Linked DNA regions of Homo sapiens: all the other regions are linked to region 3. Evidence: promoter capture Hi-C in 16 types of primary human blood cells and fetal thymus (Javierre and others, 2016). All regions are on one chromosome and are shown on one strand. The core of a region is centred on a gene start or on the middle of the fragment in contact, and the rest is flanking DNA. Distances in the headings are between cores, read along the strand shown. Region 1 overlaps CACNA1D (calcium voltage-gated channel subunit alpha1 D). Region 2 holds the start of ALAS1 (5'-aminolevulinate synthase 1). Region 3 holds the start of RFT1 (RFT1 glycolipid translocator homolog). Region 4 overlaps CHDH (choline dehydrogenase).

What was found. Contacts are between HindIII fragments. The CHiCAGO score rates a contact against its expected background, and 5 or more counts as called.
Region 1: a fragment that was not itself captured here is called in contact with the fragment with the promoter of RFT1 in region 3 in 2 of 17 cell types (naive B cells and activated CD4 T cells); the score reaches 5.4 in naive B cells.
Region 2: the fragment with the promoter of ALAS1 here is called in contact with the fragment with the promoter of RFT1 in region 3 in 2 of 17 cell types (neutrophils and monocytes); the score reaches 11.4 in neutrophils.
Region 4: a contact is called between a fragment that was not itself captured here and the fragment with the promoter of RFT1 in region 3, in 1 of 17 cell types (M2 macrophages). The highest score is 5.1, in M2 macrophages.

What each region holds. Positions count from the first base shown.
Region 1 is chr3:53,712,699-53,716,055 of GRCh38, reverse strand. All of the region lies in intron 9 of CACNA1D (calcium voltage-gated channel subunit alpha1 D), which reads right to left. Among named protein-coding and RNA genes, the nearest start is that of CHDH, 130 kb to the left of the region's middle. The HindIII fragment of the contact is 3,271 bases long and covers 48-3,318 here.
Region 2 is chr3:52,196,511-52,200,015 of GRCh38, reverse strand. ALAS1 (5'-aminolevulinate synthase 1) reads right to left here and starts at 1,856. Exons shown (of 12, transcript NM_000688.6): 1 at 1,761-1,856; 2 at 1,168-1,344; 3 at 576-806. The coding sequence starts at 774. RefSeq lists silencers at 1,615-1,694, 1,805-1,874 and enhancers at 2,015-2,234, 2,245-2,314. The HindIII fragment of the contact is 12,746 bases long and covers 1-3,505 here.
Region 3 is chr3:53,128,985-53,132,086 of GRCh38, reverse strand. It overlaps RFT1 (RFT1 glycolipid translocator homolog), which reads left to right and starts at 1,652. Exons shown (of 13, transcript NM_052859.4): 1 at 1,652-1,749. The coding sequence starts at 1,687. RefSeq lists enhancers at 1,247-1,296, 1,307-1,506, 1,547-1,596, 1,607-1,796. The HindIII fragment of the contact is 8,425 bases long and covers 1-3,102 here.
Region 4 is chr3:53,829,269-53,832,346 of GRCh38, reverse strand. The region is part of intron 2 of CHDH (choline dehydrogenase); the gene reads left to right. Among named protein-coding and RNA genes, the nearest start is that of CHDH, 16 kb to the left of the region's middle. The HindIII fragment of the contact is 8,035 bases long and covers 1-3,078 here.

The sequences.
Region 1 (3,357 bases), core at 434-2,933, 580 kb before region 3:
GTCTCATGCTGATATCGGTACAGTTGCAGCATTTCAATTCTAAAGCTTCATTTTAAAAACAATCTGATTGAAACAGATAAATTACATATTTTCTATGGGAATGGGGTCATCAGTTAGCATTTCTGGCCCCCTGCCAACTATTAGTGTATGAAATGTTCTAGTTGCTCCCTAGACTAACTGTGGGGAAAGACAAGAAGTAAAATCGAACTCCCCAAACAGCAACAAAGAGGGGAAGATAGTCTCACAGCACTGTGCCAGGGCTCCACTGAGGGTGAGGCAGGGTCCTCCTGCTCTCTGAGCTGATTCTGTCCTTCAGCTGGGTTGGGATAGTGGCTGAGAGCAGGTGCACAGGTTGGCCAGATCTAAGTTTAACCCCGCGTTTGTGACCTGACTTCTGTACATCTCCATTGCCTCACCTGTAAAAGGGTAAGAATGAGATGAGGCATGCGGAGTGCTGGGTCCCCAGGGCTGGATGATCAGTGAGGCCCACACATGTTAACTCCATCATCTCAGAAAAGCTCTCCTGGAGCTCCCTGGAAGCAAAGCGACCAATCCAGTGTCATTTTGCCCTGGCCACTTTCATCATTGCACAGACGCATCTAGTGTGAGCCATCTTCCATACCTCTGAATCAGCTTTGGCCATCATTCTTGGTTTGTATTTTCTCTGTCTTTAGCTGAGTTATTGTCTAACTTTGCCTACTGTAGGCATAGCAACTTCTCCTGTCATAGTTGTTTGACACCTAAAGAGCCACAGGCACATAATAAATAAATATATCCCAAAAAGATGTTGCCAGGGCTGAGGATGAGCAGAGGCAGACGGAAAGAAAGAGGACAGTGCCTACGCTAGAAATTGGAGACCTCATTTGGTCCTGGAAACAGCCCTTGATCCAGCCCCTAAATCTGGGCAGAGGAAACGCACTCTGACCAGGGCCCTGGCAGCCTACCTTCTCCAGCCACTTACTCCCTATCACAGGATCCTTTTCCAAAATATTTCCAGAAGAAATATCACACTTATCCTTTTCCAAAAATATTTGAAAAGATCAGGCTCAGTGGGTATAACAAAGACCTCATTTATTAAAAATAAAGCATTTTACCCTTCACTTGCATTAGGCATTCATTTTTTTAATGTTAAAAAATTAATATGACTTTCCCTTCCTTTAGCCCCAATAGGATCTCATCTATGTTTTTAAAAAATAAAGAAAAGAATCATAGACTGTTAGAACCAGAAGGGGCTTCTGAGAATACGTGAGCAAACTCTTGATTTCTCAGAGGACAGAACTCGCCAAAATGCCTTGGGACACACAGCTGACACTGAGAAATCTCTCCTAACTTCCACTCACCATTCTTTTCAAGTATGTACTGTGGTTTCACTGGTATACATTTTGGTGTTATGTACTTAAAATTCCACAAATCAACAAGTTCCAAAAAGCCAAACGAGTCTATTATCTACCAGTGCTGGTTTACTATTCTGATGACCTTTATTAACCACTCAAAATCTGGCATATAACCAGATCACTTACAGGATATCAGCTCAGTGACCGACGACAGCACAAAAATCAGGCTGCAATGGTGACGACTGGGCTTTTATAAAAATCCAGACAGAAAGAGTCATACAAACTCATGAAGGTAAAGCCATGGGCAAATTACCCGAATACATGGGCTTCTCCTAACTGGCTTCCATAGCATTGTGACTGCCCCATTTAGGTGATGGCCTTGTCCCCTTCAGCAGGGATTCAGTGTTAATTGCTGACAAGTGGCTAGGCCTTATTAGAGGTGCAGGCAGACCCCTCAGACCTCCCCACATTGCCGACAAGTGCCAGTCCCCTACTGTAGAAATAAGCACCAGGGGCCATCTGCACATGAACAAGCTGTGAAGCCTCTTCCCTGACACATTTCAGGAAACTGGAATGTTAGAGCTTTGTTAGAGAAGTTTATTTTTTATATAAATTTAAAAACTACTTTCAGTGAGTCTGGGAAAAACCAAGCATTAGGAAAGCCTGTGACCTGTGAGAGGATGCTGGCACTGCAATTTGCCTGCTGAAAATCTGGAGAAGCTCAAGGCCTATATTTTGCAATCTATTCCAGGCATTGGGATCTCTGGGAAGAGCTCCAGGGCAGACCCTTAGGCTTACAGTGTGGTGCACTGAGATTGGTGGCGGGGGGCCTGGGTGCCACTGGGGGTGAGAGGATGGTGGCAGACAGCAGCCCTGCATGTCCCAGACTGTAATTAGAGTTTCCAAGGCCTTTGCAGCATGGGCAGCCGGGCCAGGCCCCTACTTGGAGCACTCTGTGGATGTGGGTCATGGTGCTTCTCTTTAAGATCTTGCACTGGGCCAGATGTTATCATGGGCAATGCCACACACAGTAAACCAGGGAAATCTGCTGCTTCTCAGGTAAGCACAACTAGCATTTTCACCAAGGTGTAGACATTTATCCATCTACTCTCATGCTGAAGGACGACATTCGTCTCAGCCAAATGTGTCAGGCTTGTGAATTTGGAGGCAAATCTCTCACACACACACACACACACACACACACACACACACACACACATACACACAGAGCAAATGAGTCTATGTGTGGGTCCTAAGCAGGCAGCCTCAAAATTATGTTCACCATTAACAGGTATAGCAAAATCTCAGATCAACCTTCAGTGATGGAGGCTGATGAGGTCAAAAATGATGGAAGAAATGTCAGGAAAGCCTGGTGCTTATCATCAGGTGACAATGGGACAAGTGCCTCTTTTCCCCTATGCTTGGCTACCAGATCTGTAAGATGAGTTGTAGGACAGTATCATCTCTAAGATCCATTTACCTCTGACCTGCTATAACTGCAGGAAGGCAGAAACGCCCACATGCTGGCTGGTTTTACTACCAACAACCAGGGGGTTTCCCTTGCATTCCCCCAGCTCTGCAAGGAGGGGAGGGCACAAGAAGTGAGCCCCTGCCCACCACCCTCAGGAGGGAAGCCAGGGGTCCAGCCAGCAGCCTGCACTGGAGAACTGAGTCCAAGTGCTCTGCATGTAGAATGTCCCAGAGAATGGGGTGCAGCACAGGAAGCAGTAGCTCCCCAGAGGCCTCAGGGCGTCACAGGAGAGCCTCAGTCCTCCAGTCAAGGCACCCCGAAGGGAAGGCTTGCCACACATCAAACTGAGCCCAGAGCCCTCCAGCCTCGTCTAGAACCTGTCCCATTAGTAGCCTCATTCACAGATGTCTTTGGCCTCAGAGCCTCACTCCTCTGTTCTCCACAGGACAGACTTTTTTGCACACTCAGGAATTTATTTTAGCATTTCCTTCCACCTCCAAGCAGCCTAAAGCTTCTCATTCTTTTCAAAGGTAAGGGTAGGGGGTGAGGCTG
Region 2 (3,505 bases), core at 607-3,106, 930 kb after region 3:
GGTGAAACCCTACTAAAAGTACAAAAATTATCTGGGCGTGGTGGTGCATGCCTGTAATTCCAGATACTTGGAAGGCTGAGGCAGGAGAATCACTTGAACCTGGGAGGTGGAGGTTGCAGTAAGCCGAGACTGCATCACTGCACTCCAACCTGGGCGACAGAGCAAGACTCAGTCTCAAAAAAGAAAAATTAAATAAATAAAAAGCCGAAGGCCAAATGTTTAATGAGGGAAATTAGAAGGCTAAATGTTTAATGAGGGAAATTAGAACATTCCAATTTAATATTTATGTGAACGAGGCACTGAGGAAACACTAAAACCCCTATAGACACTAACGTGCAATCCAAAAACCTGTAATGTGCAACACTGGCCACTGTTTCACCTTTAAAGATGGAAAAGCTAAAAGTGCCTACCCTTGGGGGGACAATCATATGAGATAATCTGTGCTCAGAGCCCAGCCTGCACATAGCAGCCCTCTGTGAGTGAGTGTGACCCTCACCACCACTGTGGGGACTGCTTCTAGTCTACCAATGAGCACAAACACCCATACCTGCTCCTTCATTGTCAATGACACTTACTCTCACTGGCCGGAGGGGTTTCTTTGATCTGTTGGTAGTGTACTGCTGCAGTGGACAATGCCCGAGGGGCTGGCTTGGCCCCAACTTCCATCATCTTGGGGCAGTTTTGGGCATAGAACAACAGAGATTTGCCTGCTTTCTGCAGAAAGGCCTGGGGGACTCGGGATAAGAATGGGCAGCGGCGAACAACACTCTCCATGTTCAGGAAGTATGCTGGCTCCTGTGGAAAGACTGATGAAGAGTGACATCAACAGTTGTTAATAATCAGGCAAATATCACTGCAAGCTCACTGGATTCAGGTGTCAACCGCAGTTTATATAAAGGGTACCCTGGAATACTAACACTTCTCCCTCAAAAATGCCTAAGGACAGCACTGATGTGAGCTAAGGAATGGTGACCACACTTTACCCGGGTCACCAACTTCTTCATTCTCCAGCGCTACACAAAGGCACCTGCAAAGCAACTTCACCAAATGAATACTGACAGTACATAATCAAGGGGGCGGAAGGATGAGGGAAAGGTCAAGAACAGGTTTGGGAGGCCAGAGGTTTCTTAGGGAGATGCACAGTGCAGATAAGACATCTTGGCTTACATCTAGGTGGAGAAGAAGCCACTCATCCATCCAGGCAGGGAAGACTCTTAGGGATCCTGACTTTCTCCTGGTCCCCACATCCCCTAAACCCGAGGAAGGGGTCCAGCAGGGTCCCGAGTCCCTGAAGCAAGGATTCCTCCGTGGTCGTGTCCCCACAGCGGGAAGAACTGGGCATAACTGAGAAAGGAGGGGCACAAATGAGGGTAGGGGTATGAGGGCCAGCGCCTTGGGCCTCACTGGGGACGCGCAGGGGCTTATAAAGTCGAGGGAGTTGAGTCTGGAGAAAGAAGGCAGTCCTCCGGCAGTGGGGGTCAGAGGTGACCCGCGGTCGAGGTCTCGAGAATGACGGGAGGGGTATGAGAAGGGAATTCTAAAGCGGCGGGTTCAACCGGGAATAGCCGGAAGGGGCCGAAAGGGGGAAACTGAGGCGGCCGTCTAGGCAAAAGATCTGGAGGATAAACGCTGACCTCAAGGCGGCGGGTGACTGGGACAGTGGGGGATGGGGTCCCAGCACCCGGGGCAGCGGTGCCACGGCTGGCAGGACACCCCGGGGCTTCCTCGGCCGGCGCCGCACCTACCGCGCGGGCCCTCACCTGCGCTGAGGACTGCAGAGGCGGCGGCGAAGGAGGCGGGCACTCAAGTCGAGAAGTCCAAACGAAACGCTCGTTGCCCTTGTCCGGGAGCAGCCTCAGGCCGCGATCGCCGGCGCCTTAATATACAGCGGGAGTGACCGCTGCGCATGCGCCTTGGGCGCTGCCTTCTTCTGCGCAGGCGCGCCGCGTAGCCCTCGGCGAGCCGGGGGGGCGGGGCAGAGAGGCCCACTTCTTGGGCTCTGCGGATATCGGTGCTGCCGGGGATTCCCCGGCTCGCCTGCAGGGAGGAGGAAGCGCTAGGCGGTGGGCGGACGAGGTCTCTTTTCCCGACCTCATCCTGCACCCTCGTGCTGCCTCCCCACCAACTACCCTGGGCTTCAGAACCCTACGCCCCAATTGAGTATAAAATGGCAAGGTCGAGGCGAGGTGCCGCTAGGGCCAAGTTGGGGGCTACAGGGTTGTTAAGCTGGGTGTCTTGGACATGGAGGAAGAAGGAGATCCAAGGGGTTCTGGGCCGGGGTGTTAAGCAGGATCCATCCCGCCTGCGGCTTGCTTTGGAAACTGTGAACAAGGGCTTCCCGGAGGAGGTGGAGCTGGCTATATCGCCCACAAATGGAGTGGTCCTGGCAGGATGCGGAAGAAGCGGGACACTCAGCTGTGGCACTTTCTGGTCTAAGATGATCCAGAGGGGACAGAGGAACAGGGCTAGGGTGGAACCCATCCACTCCACAGCTCTGAGCACTTGGGGAGGAGGGGAAGGCACAGGGCCTGACAATAGTTAGCGTGTAACAAATATTAGCCACTATTTTTATTTTCCATCCAGGGTTGTCTGAAGCCCCTTGCTGGCCACCCTGGGCACCAGCAGGGTGGCTTAGGCCTCCATGCCAAAGGTCAGCGTTGGGCCATACCTCCATTGAGTTTCCCGGGTACAACACATAAAGTGTAGGGCTTGGCAAACCCGTCTCAGGAATGTCAGTCTGGCTTCCTTGCCCCACACCCTTCCCAGCTTGGCTTGGGCTGTGTTGGGCTGGGCCTGTGCCAGGCTCAGAGGTACTCTCCTCCATTCTTGAGGAAAGGGCCTTTGAGGGTATTCCTTTCCCAGCTGAGCATTAACAAGAGGGACAAAGTCCAGAATGATGGTGACCAGGGTGTGTCCAGGTACTTTGCATTTCTGTCTCTGAGCACCCAGCTGGCTGCAAGGCAGGTGAGGTGAGTCTCCACCTTCAGAGGAGGCACCTGGGTTCAGAGTGGCAGTGGGACCAGTCCAGGATGAGGGCTTTGGTCTGAGAGCTCGAGACCCAGTTCTGTGCCATTCAGCCAAGAGATCCTGGGCAGTGCCCATCACCCAGAGAAGATGAGAGAGAAAAGGTCAGCACTTGGACTTGGACCCAAGTGCAGCTGGAAGTGGGAACAGAATAAGGATGATATTGAGTGCTTTGCTCATCTTTGGGCCTTGCTTTCCTTATCTGGGCAATAGGATCATAATCCCTGAAATGCCTGCCTCACAGGTTGTTTTTGTTGTTGTTGTTATTTTGTTTGTTTGTTTGAGACAGAGTCTCCCTCTGTTGCCCAGGCCGGAGTGCAGTGGCACAATCTCGGCTCACTGCAACCTCTGCCTCCCAGGTTCAAGCGATTCTTCTGCCTCAGCCTCCTGAGCAGCTGGGATTACACCACCACGCCCAGCTAATTTTTGTATTTTTAGTAGAGATGGGGTTTCACCATGATGGCCAGGCTGGTCTTGAACT
Region 3 (3,102 bases), core at 403-2,902:
TCTGTTTCCAGCAGCAGTAGCAGCAGTCATGTGTCAGGAGACATTTATAGGAGCCCTAAGAATGTTCTGTACCGCTACTTCAGGAAGCAAAACCAGGCAGGCTGCACTTCTGCCCTCTTGGAGCTCATGGGCTGATTATATAGAGACACATATTCTAGTCTTTCTGCTATAATGCAGATTGCATTAGGAACTATAAAGGGGTACAGAGTATTTTAGGGGTACTGTCTTGATTTGCTTGGGCTGCTGTAACAAAATACCATAGACTGGGTAAGTCAAAAACAGAAATTTCTCTCACAGCTCTGGAGGCTGGAAGCCCAAGATCAAGGTGCTAGCCAGTTTGGTTCCTGTTAAGTGTATGTTGGGCGCCTTACATTTTACAAAGCCTTCTTCGTGGTTGCAGACAGCTACATTCTTGCTGTATCCTCAAATAGTAAACACAGAGATCATTTTTCTGACATCTCTTTTTATAAGGACATGAATCCCATTATGACGGCTCCACTTTCAGGACCTAATTACTTCCCAAAGGCCTTACCTCCTAATACTATCACACTGGGGATTAGGCTTCAACATATGAATTTTGAGGGTACACAAACATTTAGTCCACAGCAGGTACCAGCTGTGGTTGGCCAGGAAAGTCAGGACAGTGTGGTCTAGGAGGGCAAGGGGTGCTGTCAGGGAAGACACTTTGGACAAAGAGGGTGGAGGAGCAAAGGCCAGTGAGTCACCGCCTGTTTGAGGACCAGTAAGGACTCGGAATGGCTATGGCCTAGATAGTGTTGGGAAGGGCAATGATCGTGTGAAAGGTAGTAGAAGATAGGTTGGGGCCAAATCATGTGAGGACTGAAAGAGATTGGGGAAAGACTGGGCTTCCTACAGCCTGCTTGGTAGATAATAAGAACACTGACAGAACAGCAGCTGATTGTGTATGTTGGGCGCTTTACATTTTTTTACAAAGCACTTCCAGTCCTTCTTCCACTCTGCCCTCACAATTTCTAGCATACAGGCAAGAGTGATAAGTTTAGGATCAGGAGCCTGGTATCCACTTAGTCAGGAAACAAGTTGTGTAGATTCGAACAAGTCACTTCCCATCTCCAAGGCTTTACTCATCTCTAACCACAGGGGCCAATTCTCAGAGCTTTCGGAAGGATTTCACAAAACCATACACATAACAGTGCTATATCTAACTTCTGGTCCTCAGTTCTTTCTCTGTTAAATGAGGACAATTCCTGTCCAGCCTAATTCAGAGGGTCTGTGGCTGTGATTCTGTAAGCAAAGGTCAATGGTGAGAATCTTCTTAACGGGCCAGTGAGAAGTTTGTTCCCCTTTTGGCAGATGAGGCCAGGAAAGTTAGTGCTTCTTGGTTGGTGGCTGAAAGCCTCAGAGAAGGAACTTTGGATTCTTTAACGGTATCTCTTAGTACTCGCCACACTATTTCGTTTATACGGGGAAGAGAGGGACAGACAGCGCACAAGCGACAGACAGCGCAAAACCTACCGAAATAGAAAGAGCCAGGCGCCATAACAGACGGCCCGAGACAGGCCCACTTAAAGGACCAGAACTTCTCGTGCCCCGCCCCCCTCTCTCAAGGCCATCAATCAGACAGCGAGGCGCGCCGTGACGCCATCTTATCGCGACTAAACGGAGTGGCGGCGGCATTTCCTGGTGTCTGAGCCTGGCGCGGAGGCTATGGGCAGCCAGGAGGTGCTGGGCCACGCGGCCCGGCTGGCCTCCTCCGGTCTCCTCCTGCAGGTACTCTCTGCCCTTCAGGTTCCAGCTTGTACTGCAGCCGGGATTCGCGGGATGGCAGCCCTTGGGCCCTTGAGAGCCTGCCCCAGGGCCGACCCAGTCCCGAGGTGGACCCCGCAATGGAGGGGGTGGGGGGGTCGACCGGAGACGGTGGCATTGATGAGGGGGGACCCTGGCCCGGAGATAGGAGCCTGCCTTTAGAGTCTAGGCCGGGTGACTGCAGACAAGCCGCTTTCCTTCTGAGCATTCTATTTCCCATATGGCAGTAGGAGTGAATTAGATCAGGTGGCGGGGGTGAGGGACTGGTATTTCGTGCTCGAGAATCTGATATTTTTCAGGCAAGGGGTTCATTTCCTTCATCAAACACCTTCCTCAAACTTTGAGTCCCACTGAGTTCCGAGAGTCCATATGGCATAGCTAAGAAGAGAAATCTGGAGTTAGGCTTGGATTGCTCCGTGACCCAGGACAAGTGACTTCACCTGCAGAGCCTGAGTTCCTCACTAGTAAAATGGGGGTAATAATATGTCGTACTTAGCTCATAAGCAGGGATTGATTGGGATCATTCAAATAAACGTACTTAACACAGTACCCGGCTCTTAGTATGCATTTAATACATGTTGGCTGCATCTTCTGTTTATGTGATCTTGGACAAGTCACTTCCCTTCTTGGCCCTAATTTTTGTCATCTGTCAGGTATGATACAGGCCAGTTAGTCCAAATGGTATCTGAAGATTCTTTCAACCCCAGGAGCTGAACCTCTTAAGTCAAGTGGCTCAGTATCTCTCTGTCTCACTCTTGAGCCAATCAACCCTACTTCACACAAGTCCCGAATCTACCCTACCCCTTATCTTAGAGAGGCACATGGAGGGCAGAAGAAAGAACCAAGCAGAATGGGGCTTGAGTTTGGGCCTTGTCACTTGCTAGATGCCTGCCTTCGGGATAAATCCGATGACTTCTGTATCAGTTTCTTCATCTTAAATGAGAATCATAGTGCAACCTCACAGGGTCATTAGGAAGATTAGATGAAATCATGCCTCTTAAGTGCCTGGCACACTACAAGTACTTAATAAATGTAGCTATTTTTATTAGGGTAATAAGTATTTTTAAAATAGTCAATGTAGGAATGAAATGAGATAACCTATGGAAAGCATGTTGAAGAGTGCCTTGCACGTGATATGTGCTTAGTAAATGTTAGCCATTCTAAGTTTACCTAGGGATTTTTTTTTTCTGTTTCACTACATAAATAACTGAGTTTATTGTTTTATCCACAATGTTGGTTTTTTTTCAGCCTTTGATAATATCTTACTACTCAGATAGGCTTCATAAAACGAAAACAAGTTATAACGGAAAACACACT
Region 4 (3,078 bases), core at 409-2,908, 700 kb before region 3:
TGTTATCCAGGATGGTCTTAATCTCCTGACCTCATGATCCGCCTACCTTGGCCTCCCAAAGTGCTGGGATTACAGGCGTGAGCCACCATGCCCGGCCCTACTCACCTGTTGATAGACATTTGAGTTGTTGCCACCTTTTTGCTGTTGTGAATAATGATGCTGTAAACATTGGTGTAAGAATATCTGTTCAAGTTTCTGCTTTCAGGTTTTTGGAGTATATACCTAGGAGTGGAATTACTGAATCACATGGTCTGTGTTAGCTTTTTGAGGAACTGCTAACCTGTCTTCTACAGAATTTGCAACATTTTACATTCCTACCAGCAATGTGCAAAGGTTCCCATTTCTCCATATCCTCATTAACACTTGTTACTTTTCTTTCTTTTTTTTTTTTTTTGAGATGGAGTCTGGCTCTGTTGCCAGGCTGGAGTGCAGTGGTGCCATCTCGGCTCACTGCAGCCTTTATTATAGCCATCCTGATGGGTGTGATAGCCATCAGGATGGGTGTGAAGTGGCAATTCACTGTGATTTTGATTTATAGTTTCATAATGATTAGTGATGTTGAGCATCTTTTCATGTGTTTATTGGCCATTTGTGTTTCTTTCTTAGAGAAATGTCTATTCAAGTCCTTTGGCCATTTTCTATTTGAGTTGTTTGTTGTTGAGTTATAGTTTTAAACACATTCTAGATATTAACCTCTTATCAGATATATGGTTTGCAAATATTTTCTCCTATGGATTGTCATTTCATTCTTGAGAATGTCCTTTGATGCAGTAAAGTGTTTGATTTTGATGAAATATAACTTTCCTACAGGTAGGGTGACACAAGCACCCCTGTGGCCACCAACACTGGGACTGTGCTGGGTCAGACCTGAAGTCAGCACAGGACTGGGTCTTGCCCAAGGCCTGCTGTAACCACTATGTGGCTACCGCCTGTATTCACACAAGGCCCCAGGGCTCTACAGTTAGCCAGCGGTGAAGCCAGCCAGGCTTGTGGCCTTCCCTTTGGGGCGGCAAGTTTCCCCAGGCCCCGGGCAGATAGAGATGCTTTCCGGGAGCCAGGTACTGGAGTCAAAAACATTAGAAAGCTACCTCGTGTTCTATTCTACTGTAGCTGAGCTGGCACTCACACCATGTGACACAGTCCTTCCCACTTTTCCCTTTTCACAGGCAGAGGAGCCTCACACCATGGCGACCACCACAGGCCCACAGGGAGGACTGCCAGGATACCACCAGCATTCACTTAAGGCCCAAGGGCTCTTCAGTCAGCTTGTGGTGAATGCTGCCAGGCCTGAGACTCACCCTTCAGGGCAGTGGGCTCCCCTCTGGCCCAGGGTTGGTCCGGAAAGGCCACTTAAGAGCCAAGGCCTGGAATCAGGGAACCCAAGAGCCCTCTTGGTGCTCTCCTCCACTGTGGCCAAGCTGGTGCCTGATTTTTGGTTGCTATGAAATTGCTCCCTTTGTGCAGATAGTTGTCAAACTTGGTGTTCCTGTGGGGGTGGGGGGCGAGGGGGATGATTGATGGAGCAAATAGAGATTTGCCATCTTGCTCTTCTCCTCCCTGATTTCAGTCTTTTAAGATGTATTAAGATTTGTTTTGTTGCCTAACATATGGTCTCTCCTGGAGAATGTTCCATGTGCACTTGGAAAAAATGTATATTCTCTTGTTGTAGTGAATGTTTTGTATATATCTGTTAGGTCTCCAACTGGTTTATAGTGTTATTCAAATCCTCTGTTTCCTTACTGATCTTCTGTCTAGCTTCTGTCCATTATTGAAATCTGAGTATTGAAGTCTCCAGTTATTGTTGTAGGACTGTTTATTTCTCCCTTCAAATCTGTCATTGTTTGCTTCATTTTGGGGCCCTGATATTTGGTGCATATATGAATTGCATGTTTTAAAACTTCACATATATACAAATATATGTGAAGATATATATATATATATATAATCTCATTTAGGCCACAGCCTCTTATAATATTCTTTTTGTGTGCTGAATATATTTTTAGGATTCATCCATGTTGATGTGAGGTGCTATGTGTCCTTCATTTTCACTGCTGTCTGGGGTTTCTTTGACCAACTGAACTATACCTTTTTCTATGTCCTTTATATTTCCACATACATTTTGAAATCAGCATTTCAATTTCCACCAAAAAAAAAAATGCCTGCTGGGATTGGCATTGCATCGAATCTATAAATCAATTTGGGGAAAACTGACATCATAAAAATATTGGGTCTTCCTATTCGTAGTATTTATTTAGGTCATCTTTAACTTCTGTCAATGTTTTGTAGTTTTCAGTATATAGGTCCTGTATATATTTTAAGTTTATTACTAAGTATGTCATGTTTCCTGGTGCTCTTGTAAGTGTTATTGTTTTGTCTTGTGGTTGCCCATGGAGGGTGGGATCAACCCCCCACCACCCAAAGTTGGTTTGAATGTTGAGACTAATGACATCACACACACACCAAGTGGCTACCATAAGGTTTATTGCTCACATAATGGAGCTTTATAGGGTGAGGAGGGCAAGCACCCAGGCTTGTCTGTGAAGGAAGAGGTGAGTGTTCCTGGTTATTATTATAGTTAGGGAGTGGAGTCAAGGTGAGAATCCCACACGTGAATTGGATTTGCATGACTTGAACCTCCCTGTTGATACTCCAGGCAGGAATGCCAGAGCTTTTTTATTCACTTGCCCAGGTGTGGGGCAAGAGGGGAAGAGGGAGGGATGGAGCTTGAAAGCTATCGGTAGTCAAACATCAAAAATGGAGTCAGGCTCTATTATAGTTTTAAAATACTGTTTAAAAAGGCAGTTTCAGGCTCACAGCAAAATCGAGAGGAGGGTGAAGAGATTTCCCATATAACCTTTGCCCCTACACGTGCATAATCCTCCCATTAACAACATCCTCGCACTAAAGTGGTACATTTATTACAAATAATAAACCTATATTAGCACATCATTATCACCTAAAGCCCATAGTTTACATTAGGGTTCACTCTTGGTATTGCACATTCTATAGGTTTGGACAAAAATGACCTGTATCCACCACTGTACAGAAAACAGATTAGTTCCCCGCCCTAAAAATCCT